Linked DNA regions of Homo sapiens: regions 1, 3 and 4 are each linked to region 2. The links are contacts of gene promoters, found by promoter capture Hi-C in human tissues and cell types (Jung and others, 2019). All regions are on one chromosome and are shown on one strand. The core of a region is centred on a gene start or on the middle of the fragment in contact, and the rest is flanking DNA. Distances in the headings are between cores, read along the strand shown.

What was found. Contacts are between HindIII fragments. The study calls those that stand out against the background at their distance.
Region 1: a fragment that was not itself captured here is called in contact with the fragment with the promoter of PI16 in region 2 in 1 of the 25 tissues and cell types used here (spleen).
Region 3: a fragment that was not itself captured here is called in contact with the fragment with the promoter of PI16 in region 2 in 5 of the 25 tissues and cell types used here (dorsolateral prefrontal cortex, heart left ventricle, lymphoblastoid cells and 2 more).
Region 4: a fragment that was not itself captured here is called in contact with the fragment with the promoter of PI16 in region 2 in 1 of the 25 tissues and cell types used here (spleen).

Annotation. Positions count from the first base shown.
Region 1 is chr6:36,767,864-36,770,563 of GRCh38, reverse strand. All of the region lies in intron 10 of CPNE5 (copine 5), which reads left to right. Among named protein-coding and RNA genes, the nearest start is that of CPNE5, 70 kb to the left of the region's middle. RefSeq lists an enhancer at 1,365-1,896. The HindIII fragment of the contact is 6,053 bases long and covers 1-2,700 here.
Region 2 is chr6:36,953,220-36,956,124 of GRCh38, reverse strand. PI16 (peptidase inhibitor 16) reads right to left here and starts at 1,387. Exons shown (of 7, transcript NM_153370.3): 1 at 1,194-1,387. The coding sequence starts at 1,364. The HindIII fragment of the contact is 39,732 bases long and covers 1-2,905 here.
Region 3 is chr6:37,175,361-37,178,060 of GRCh38, reverse strand. It overlaps PIM1 (Pim-1 proto-oncogene, serine/threonine kinase), which reads right to left. Exons shown (of 6, transcript NM_002648.4): 6 at 2,633-2,700. Among named protein-coding and RNA genes, the nearest start is that of PIM1, 6.6 kb to the right of the region's middle. The HindIII fragment of the contact is 4,205 bases long and covers 1-2,700 here.
Region 4 is chr6:37,202,297-37,205,119 of GRCh38, reverse strand. No RefSeq gene overlaps it. Among named protein-coding and RNA genes, the nearest start is that of PIM1, 34 kb to the right of the region's middle. The HindIII fragment of the contact is 3,955 bases long and covers 1-2,823 here.

The DNA.
Region 1 (2,700 bases), core at 29-2,528, 190 kb after region 2:
CATTCCCTCCTATTGTGAGAAGAGGTACAGGAGGATGAGAACCCGGGCCTGATGAGAAAGGGCAGTGTTCTCGGAATGATGGGTGTAGAAGCCAGGTAATACGATTACAGTTACTGAGGACTTAGGACATGGACCAAGTTGTATTCTAATTGGTTTAAATGCGTTATCTTATTTTGTGAATTTAAATTTTACAATAACCCTAGGAGCCGGGTCTAGTGCTGTGCCTATTTTACAAGGGAAATAGAAGAGAAGATATTATATAACTTGCCAGAGTAAGGAGAAGCTGCATTTCCCTCCTGTTGAAATTGCCTCTGGCCTGGCCCTCTGGCCTGGAGTCTCCCTGCCTTTGCTATGTGTCCAGTCCACACAAGGCCAAACCTGAGTGACCTAGCTGAGCAGAGCTGAAGTCACAGGAAGTGGCATCAGGATCAGAGCCAAGCCAGCCTTCCGGTGGGGTAAAGTGGGGTGATGACAGGAAGCACTTCCCCTGCCTTCCTGGAATTTGCCCTACTCTCTTAATGTTCTGTGACTTGAGGATTTGTCCCTGTTAAACCACAGTTGTCTGGGTCAGGCTGCTCACACCTTGATGCTGAATGAGTAGATTTTAAGAGGGTGTTAAGAGTGTGGAGTCCTCACCTGGAGAGAGGAAAGGAGTCACCGCAGCTTCCCACTTCTGCCTGGCACCCTTGATGTGTGAGTTCCTTCTCTTTTGCATCCGGCCACAGATGAGCTCCCAGGAGGGCCAGGCGCCCTATCAGGCATCTCCACAGATGGCCTCGATGAAGGGCATCGTACCGTTCTCGGTATTCACATGCAGAAGCTGAGGCTCAGACGGGAGGCACGGTCACCGCGGCACTGCCCGGTGTTGCGCAGTGCAACCTGGGGGCCGAGATTGCTGCCAGTCTCACTGCCTGCCCCAGATGAGGCCCTGATGCTCCTCTTCCTGAAGAGTTGAGTGTTGGACTGACTCAAGTCCATTTAAGGCAAAACCCCTCAGGGCCTGTCAGCCCTCGGGACTTGTAAGCCGCAGGGAAACCTTCCCCCTGCCAGGCAGAGGCTCATTAGGAGGCAGACCTTGCAGCTCAGCTGGGAGGAAACTATAGATAGAGCTAGTTGGTATGCCGTGGGGGCAGCCTGGCGTTTTGGCTGGTGTCTCTCATCCCTGCTGGCTTGCCCAGGCTCACACATATCTGGCTCTGTCATTGTGGCTCTAGGTGTCCAGAGGCCCAGGTCACTGACTCCTGGCATCACCACTGACCAGCTGTGTGACTCACGGAGAGCCACATACTCTTGGCCTCCTTTTGTGATTTTGTAGAATGACGGTATTATTACCTGCACAGCCCATTTCATCACGTTGCTAGGAGCTCTCAGTCAGCCAACAAATATGTATACAGCACCTGATATAGGCTAGGCACTGTTCTAGAAGCTGAAGATACAGCAGGAAACAAACAAACAAAAATCCCGGGCCTCATGGAGCTGATATTTTCAAGAAGCATGGGAATTGTTTGAGAGACAGGAGCTTGGATAAAGGGATGGAGTGTTTTAGACAGGAACAGAGCAACATGTGTCCAGCGCTGACTGTACGTGGAGATAGTTTACTTGCACAGCAGCTCCAAAGTGGCTGTGATTTTTCTCAATTTGGAAAGGAGGGGAGTGTCTGAGGGTTAAGCCAGTTGCTCGGGGCAACAGACCTAGTACTTGGAAGAGCTGAGACTGCCAGCCAGGGCTGCTCACCCCACAGCCGAAGGTCTTTTCTGCCCACTTTGCTGCCTCCTAGGTTAGGCCTCTGTCCTGAGCCTTTGTATGCCAGATAAGGTGTTCATTTGGTGGTCTGCAGAAGCCCATTTCATTTTCCCACACCCAATAAGCCTGTTCTCTTGGGTGCCGGCCCCAGAAGTCACAGTCAGCTGGACCGCAGCTTTTGTTGGCCCTGTGCTAAGGGGTTAGGAGCCAAGGCCAGCAGGTGACAAGTGACATCTGCAGTGACTTCAGGCAGCCCAACCAGGGTGGACAGCCACAGAACTGTGAATATGGCTGGGCACGCTGGTTCACGCCTGTAATCCCAGCATTTTGGGAGGCCAAGGTGGGCGGATCACTTGAGGTCAGGAGTTTGAGACCAACCTGGCCACCATGGTGAAACCCCGTCTCTACTAAAAATACAAAAATTAGCCGGATATGATGGCATGCGCCTGTAATCCCAGCTACTCAGGAGGCTGAGGCAGAATTGCTTGAACCCAGGAGGTGGAGGTTGCAGTGAGCCGAGATCGTACCACTGCACTCCAGCTTGGGCGACAGAGCGAGACTCTGTCTCAAAAAAAAAAAAAAAAAAAAAAAAAAAGAACTGTGAATAGAGTAGTCAAAGCCTTATTTGTCTTCTCCCCATGGTCTTCCCCCTGTCTCTGGGCACTATTTCTCTCACCTCCTTCTCTCCCAAAGCTGGAGGTGCAGACTTTGAGCTAATCTGACCCCCAGGCTGCAGCCATCCCTGGAGCCTTAATGGAGGCCAGGCCGAGTTTGCACAGGAATCTCATTCAGTGGTCTCAACCTGGGTTGCAAGTTCAAATCCCCCTGGGGAGCTTTTAACAATTCCCATGCCCAGCTTGCACTCCAGACCAACTGATCATGAATCTCTCGGGTAAGACATTGGTGTCAGTATTTCTAAAGCTTCTTGGGGGGATTCCAAATTGCAACCAAGTTTGA
Region 2 (2,905 bases), core at 138-2,637:
TCCATCTGGAAACAGAGGCCTTTGAAGGGAAAGGGGTCCACCCAGAGTTACTTCAGCCAGATCACATTAGGCTGAGGTTAGAACTTAGGTTTGGGGCCCCAGGCTCACTGTTATGTTCCCCAAGGTGCATCTGTTCTCTCAGGCACCAGCTCCAGGGGTCCCTGAACACTGCCCAGCAACCTCCCCAGTCACCTGAGGGTGGCTGGAGGGGACAAGCTAGTTCAGCCCTCAGGGAGGGCAGGAAGTGGGTGAATTTCTCACTTTATCTCCTTTAATTCTGCATATAGACAGCCCGCCTCTCACCCTACCATAAATAGCTCTTCCTGACAGAAGTAACCAACCCTAAATCTGGCTTCTGTCTCCTGTGTGCATGTACATGTAATGTTTACTACATCTGCGTGTTTCACCAGGACATAAATAGTATTTTTACATGTTTTCAGACTTCATGTAAAGAGATCCTACTGTGTATTTTTTAGAGATTTTATTTCCTCCCCCATTCAGTATGATATCTGTGAGATTCAATCCACACTGGTATATACGTAGCTCTAATTCTGACCGCCTTTTACAGATGAGACACGGGATCGGCAAGGTTACAGGACTTGCCTCGAATCATAGGTCTTGTAGGTGACCGAGACAGAATTTGGACTGTGTGATCCAGAGCCCTCTCTGCTTCTGGATCCTGCTGTCACCCACCTCCTTAGCACCTGCCTCCTACTCCACGTGCCCACGCCCATCCTGCTGCCCTGCTTCCTCTTGTCCTCTCCTTGGCAGGCATGTGAAAGACCGTTTTCACAAAGGTGTTAAGAACTTCCCGGGTTCCCCCACTGAGGGCACATGCATTTGAGGAAGTGCTGGGGAAAGCTCATTGGAGTGGGAAGCCAGGGCTTTGGGTCTGGCTCTACCAGCTGTGTGACCCCAACAAATCCCTCTGAGCCTCACTTTCCTTATCTGTATTATGAGGCTGCTTATAGGGGCCTGTGAATTTTATTAGGCGGGTGCAAAAGTAATTGTGGTTTTTGCCATTTAAAGTAATGTAATACCATGTCAGGGACTCGGGGACTCTGTCACTGACCAGAAAAAGGAGAGGAATTCTGAAATAGCTTCAGCATGAGGAGCAGGGTAAGAGAGCCTGGTGACAGACCCTGGCCAGCACCCCTTCCATCCCAGCCAGCAAGGGCCGTGGCCACACTTACCATGTGCAGCATGTCTGAGGCCGTCGGGGATACCTGGGCCCGGTAGAGGTTGTGCAGCTCCACCATCAAACGTTTCTCCTCATCTGTGAGGGCTCCAACGGGGCCTGTGGTGGCCACCAGCAGTAGCAGTAGCGGCAGCAGAAGCATCAGGAAACTGCAGGAGCCGTGCATGGTGGCCAGCCGTCTCTCCTTCTCCCGTCCAGGGGTCTGGCAGCTGGATTTAAAGTCCTTCCCACACAAGCACCACCCTGGCTGGGGTGGGGCAGTGGGGGCCGTGTTTGAGGCCCAGCCCGACTCACACAATGTCTCAGGGAGGGCTGGGCGCTTTGGGTCCCGACCAGCATCAAGTGCACTCCCCTTGGAGTCCTTGGCAAAAACCTCCTTTCTCTTGGTAACGGGGGCTCAGGCCAAAAGCTGTGTGAGTTCCTAAGTTGTGGACAGATCCTTCAGGGGCAAAATCACAGTAACCTCTGCAGAGCTGTGACTGGTTGCACCCAGGTCACACCCACTGTGTGTTGAAGATAGATAAGAGAAAGGAAACCACAGACCCTACCCACAGAGGAGTGGGCAAGATGAGGAAGCTATAGGCTTTTGAAAGGACAGAGGAAGACCAGATGTATTTGATAAAAGGCTGAGCCAACCTAAATCAGAATCCTGGTTCTGCCCCTTGCTATCTGTGTTTTGGCAGCTTTCTCAAGTGAATCAGTGACAATAATAGTACCTATCTCACAGGACTAGAGGGAAGATTCAATGACATATAATGTATGTAAAGCACCTAGTATGGTGTCTGGCACATAGTAGGCCCTCAGTAACAGTAGACAACCCACTCATGTGGCCTGGGCCTTAGCAGGCTACCAGCCCCCTGTGGAGGCAACATTCTTGCCTGCGGGGGGAGAGGCCAAGGTCTTCCCCACTCTAGCTGTATTCAGGAATAAGGCCTTTCACTATGGCAAAATTTTGGCTTCCAGGTATCCTCTCTGAATGCATGTGCTTGACATGCTCATTTGGAAGTGGGATGCTGGGACCCCTGTGCTCTAACTATGTAGAAATATAATGTGTCTGTTTCTTAAATCAAGAGAGAGCAGAAAAGCAGAAGGTTGAATGAGCTGATGCACCAGGAGCTCTGAGGGGAAGGTATTGGAAGGGAAATAGCCTTAGCAGTCAGGTGCTGGCATTATAATGACCTTGACCTTGCAGGGGCCATGACCGGTTCATGAAGCAGGAAGCTGGAACCAGTACTCTTGAGGACAGCTGGGATCCTTGAAGCCTGCTTCTTCAATGAATAGGGACCTAGAAAAAGTCTACCCACAGGCTTTGGAAGATGACAAGAAAACCTGTCCCTGCCTGAGTCTCCAAGTAAAAATAAAAACAAAACCAAGATGGATTACACACACATACACACACACACACACTTATTAGAATTAATAAAGTCAGCAAAGTTGCAGGATACAAAATTAACACATAGAAATTAGTTGTTTCTATACACTAATAATGAAAAATCCAAAAAGGAAATTAAGAAAACAATTTCATTTATAAAAGCAATGAAAAAGAATAAAAAGAATAAAATTCTTACCAATAAACTTTTTTTTTTTTTTTGAGATGGAGTCTCGCTCTGTCACCCAGGCTGGAGTGCAGTGGCATGATCTTGGCTCACTGCAACCTCTGCCTCCTGGGTTCAAGTGATTCTCCTGCCTCAGCCTCCCAAGTAGCTG
Region 3 (2,700 bases), core at 121-2,620, 220 kb before region 2:
GGAGATAGTAGTTTTTCTGTATGTAAGTATATCTGTTATTTAACCCAGTCTCCTAATAATCCAATCCAGGAGTATCTCTGTTTAGAGATTAGTTTTAGAGGGTGTAATAACTTGCCCAAGGTTTCTAGATAAGTAAGCTCAAGGCTGATTCCCAAGTCAATGCTTTTAACCATTGCTCTCTATATTCCTCTGGCCATGACATTGATCCCCCGCAGACTTATTGGTTATCTGATTCCCTTTCCACGCTAGATGTCAAACTGCCCCTGAGAAGAGATTAAATATGACCTTTCACCCTCCCCCTAAAACTCTTAATCTCTTGCATCCAACAGGAGCACGATCTGTCTTTATTCAGAGATACTTTCTTCTATTCCCCCGCAGCAGTCTCATTAGATGGGGAAACTGCCAGAAACTCACTTCGAGAAAGAGAAGGGTGGGGCTTTGCCTGATTTCGTTAATAGTTTGCGGCAACTTTTAATTATCCAAGTGTCAGCTTTACTGGAAAGGACGAAGCATGCAACCCTCAGGCTCCAAGATGTTGGTAGTGTGTGTATGTTGTGTGGGGGATGGGAGAGATTAGAGAAAAGGGGAACCTCAGAAAATCAGCCCCCCAGAACCAAGACATCCTTCCTTCCTCTTTATAGCCACATGGGGGCTGAGCTGAGGTATGGGATCTAGTCTAAGCTTAAGGGTAGACATACACCAGAACCCAATGAGGAGTGAGGGGTATTATAGTCTGCACCCTCCAGCAACCTCGAGGGTGCATATGGGCCAGTGTCCAAAGGGTGTGTGGATGCATTGAGGGTTGGGAGCATGATGACCCCCAGGGAGGGAGTATTATAACTGTGGATATTTATAAAGAAACAAGAAACCAACATTTACCAATACTTAATATATGAATTGACAATGGCACTCCAGTGTGCTTTCAAAATATCAGGATGTATTCAGGCCACACGTACAAAGTGGATTCATGGGTCTTGCCATCCAGTTTAACTAAACTCACACAAAATGGACAAAGGGCCTATTAAACAGATCCCTGCAAAGAAACCATGGACTAAAAATACTAATTATTCAAGAATAAGCAGTAAGAAAATGGCAGAGCTAACATTTCACCTACTCCCAATATTAGCCCTTTGTCAAACACATCAGAGGGGGAAACCTTAAGTCAAACTCACATTTCTACCCATCCACTATTGTGTGTGTGTGTGTGTGTGTGTGTGTGTGTGTTTTAAGTGGGGTTACCTGTTGCCCAGGCTGGAGTGCAATAGCGTGATCATAACTCACTGCAACCTTGGAGCTCCTGGGTTCAAGCGATCCTCCTGCCTCAGCCTCCTGCATAGGTAGGACTACAGGTGTATGCCACCACGCTCAGCTAATTTTCACTTATTTTTTGTAGACTGGGTCTTATCTGGTCACGACTTTAGTGTCACCACACTGTTCTATTATTTTTTCTATGCTGCATAATAAATTATACTATTGTTAAAGACTAGGCCAGGCGCGGTGGCCCACGCCTGTAATCCCAGCACTTTGGGAGGCCAAGGCAGGCAGATCACTTGAAGTCAGGAGTTCCAAACCAGCCTGGCCAACATGGCGAAACCCCGTATCTACTAATACAAAATTAGCTGGCCTGGTGGCACATGCCTGTAATCCCAACTTCTCGGGAGGCTGAGACAGGATAATCACTTAAAACCCGGGAGGCGGAGCTTGCGATGAGCCTAGATTGCACCACTGCACCCCAGCCTGGGCAACAGAGCGACACTCCATCTCAAAAAAAAAAAAAAAAAGGCTGCGGAGCACGATGGCTCACACCTGTAATCCTAGCACTTTGGGTGGCTGAAGCAGGCGGATCATAAGGTCAAGGAGCTCGAGACCAGCCTGGCCAACATGGTAAAACCCTGTCTCTACTAAAATACAAAAATTAGCTGGGCGTGGCAGCGGGCGCCTGTAATCCCAGCTACTCAGGAGGCTGAGGTAGAACTGCTTGAACCCGGGAAGTGAAAGTTGCAGTGAGCCGAGATCGTGCCACTGGCAGTGGCACGCCAGCTGGTCCAGCCTGGTTGACAGAGACTCAGTCTCGAAAAGAAACTAAACCTCACACTAAAGGTGAAGGAAACTTGAATCAGGAACCGAGAGTAATAGAGGCAATAGTTTTTCAATAAACTTCACGTGTACCAAGGGGACATGCTCAAAATGTTTTACTATCAGTGGCAGACAACTGATAAAAGCTTCAAGGGTTAGTTTGGTAATAGGTATGTATTTGTTATCTCTAGATCAGCCCCATCCAATAGAACTTTCTGCAATGATGTTTTATATGAGGTGGCCACTAGCCATAAATGGCTATTGAACACTTGAAAATTGTCACATCTATCCTATTTGCATAGCTTTAAAATTGTAATCTGGAAAAGGTTATTTTATTAGGCCTCCCATGCCAGATATTGCCCAAATTTTGACAATACTGGTCCTACCCCTTGACCATACATTCGTTTCAGGAAGATGACTATCCTAGAAATCCCAATGTTGAAGGAAGCCAGATTTAGGCTGAGAATTCCTTTCTCCTACAATTCTTTGGCACTTACCAAATGCTCAATAAATGCAGGTTAGCAATGCCTCCGCACAGACGATTAGAAGCCACGAGTTAAGACAAAAGGTTTTTATTCAAAAAACGCCAAGTATAAAAAAAAAAATAAGATCTCTTTTATTCCC
Region 4 (2,823 bases), core at 200-2,699, 250 kb before region 2:
TCACCAGCTATTAGTAAAAGAGGGACTCATTTAAATGCTTACTTTTTTCCCCTGAATAAATGATGATTTTATTCCCTAGGAAATAGTTTTTACAAATGCCTCTGATCATATTTTGCTTCATTAACAAGGGATTTTTTGTTTTGTTTTACACCTCTTTTATTATTATTTTTTTAAATTTTATTTTAGGTTCAAGGGCACGTGTGCAGATTTCTTTTCTTTTTCTTTCCATTTTTTTTGAGATGGAGTCTCACTCTGTAGCCCAGGCTGGAGTCCAGGGGTGCGATCTCAGCTCACTGCAACCTCCACCTCCCGGGTTCAAGCGATTCTCCTGCCTCAGCCTCCTGAGTAGCTGGGATTACAGGCACTCACCACCATGCCCGGCTAATTTTTTTATTTTTAGTAGAGAAAGGGTTTCACCATGTTGGCTAGGATGGTCTTGGACTCCTGACCTCAAGTGATCTGCTGGCCTCGGCCTCTCAAAGTGCTGGGATTACAGGTATGAGTCACTGCACCTGGCTGGATTCCACAGTTTTGTGAGCCTCACACTTCTCCAACCTTCCACCCTCTAGTAGGCCCCAATGTCTGCTGTTTCCTTCTTCGTGTCCATATGTACTCAGTGTTCAGCTCCCACTCATAAGGGAGAACATGCAGTATTTCTTTTTTCTGTTCCTGTGTTAGTTCGCTTAGGAAACAAGGGTTTTATGCATGTGTGTTTGGTGTATGATTGTGTGTGTCTGTGCATCTGTGTTGTGCGTGTGAATGTATGCATTTGGGTCTGTGTGTATGTTTGTAATCTGGGTTTGTGCATGTGCGTGTTTGTATTTGTGTCTGTTGTGTCTATGTGTGTATGTTTGGGTATCTGTGTTTGTGTATGTGTATGTGAATATGTGTGTGTATTTGTGTATGTTTGTATGTCTGTGTTTGTGTATGTGAGTATGTGCGTGTATTTGTATATGTTGTGTCTGTGTGTATGTTTGGGTATCTGTGTTTGTGTATGTGAATATGAGTGTGTATTTGTGTATGTTGTGTCTGTGTGTATGTTTGTATGTGTGTGCTTGTGTATGTGTGTATGTGTGTGCTTGTGTATATGTAAAAGACTGAGTTAAATAATTACTAGGTAGCTTCTGTACTGGAAGGGCTTAAAAAGAAATAATTACTTGGTGATTATCAGAAATAACTTTCATATTAAAGATACACAAAACTCAAAATTTTTTTCAGACTTTACATGTTTTTAAAATCTCCTTCTGCCTCTTACCAAGGATACAGAAATGTATCCCGTGAGGGGCATCTTATTTAAAGTGTATGTTTGGTTTCTCCTCCTGACAGCGTGGCACTGACAAGATGTCTTTTATGAATGATGTGATGGAGAATGGATTTGAAGTCAGCCTGCTTCTCAAACAGAGTTTTGGGGGAAATAAAGGATTCTTTTCAGAGGCTTTGGGAGAAAGTACTTGTAAAAGTGTCCCAGTGGCTGGGCACAGTGGCTCATGCCTGTAATTCCAACATTTTGGGGGGCCGAGGCAGGAGGATCACTTGAGCCCAGGAGCTCAAGACCAGCCTGAGCTGGTCACTACAGGGCAACGTGGTGAGACCCTGTCTCTAAAAAAAAAAAAAAGAAACAAGAAAAGAAAAATAAAATTTGCCCAAGCAATTAAGAGTCCTGTTAATTCAGCAAATAAACATTTTACAGCTCCTTTTCAAGGATTTCCCAGCTCCCGGCATCTTCCTCTCCAGCCTCCTCCCTGCTACCCGGACCTCAGCCTGGCCCCACCTGCCCCACCCTTTGATCTGAGGAGCTCTTGCATTTTTTGGCCTGATTGGGATTATTTTATTAAGCATTTGATCACCTGTGTACAATAACCATCCACCTTCTCCAACTTCTGATATCCTGGAGCACACCTATGTTTCCCAAACATATGCGTTCACACCTTCTTTCATTCATCAAAATTTATTCATTCATCAAAACATATGGCTTGTCAAATATATGCCAGGCATTGTGCTAAGTGAGGCAAAAATAAAAAGCAAAATGCAGTCTTGGCCCTGAATCAAGAAGGGAGCGTGTCAGGAAGTCATTACAGTACTATGTGATAAATCAGGTAAGAGAGGAAGTCCAAAGTGCTATGTTATCTCTATTTGTCAGTGATTCATTCAACGAATCTTTATTGAGTTTATACTAAATATATCAGACCCTGTTCTAGATATTGGAGTGACAAAGGTGAAAAAAACAGATAAATTCCTGCTCTCACGAAACTTACATTCTGAGGAGGGAAGACAGATGATAAGCAACGAAACTTGCACATCTGTATAATCATTTCAGCTATGATAGGTGCTGGGAAGAGAATAAGACAAGGTAGTATAATAGAGAGTTTGGTCCCAAATAACAAGACTTTGCCAGTCCTAGTAATTCTGTCCTCTCGTGATTAACTGGCTCAGGAATAGGCTCATGACTCAATGGAGATGGGCAGCCAGGAGGCCTTTGGACAAAGGATGTCTCTCTGGGGAGGTGATGCTTAACATGACTGAGAAGATCTGTGGGACATTTGAAACGAAGAGCAAGTGCAAAGTTCCAAGCAGGGGGAGCAAGTCTGGGGTGTTCAAAGAACAGTCAGGAAGCCAGTGACTGGGCTGGGGTGCGGTGGTTCACACCTCTAATCCCAGCCCTCTGGGAGGCCGAGGCGGGCAGATCATCTGAGGTCAGGAGTTCAAAACCAGCCTTGGCCAACGCGGTGAAACCCCATCTCTACTAAAAATACAAAAATTAGCCAGGCATGGTGGCAGGTGCCTGTAATCCCAGCTACTCAGGAGGCTGAGGCAGGAGAGTCT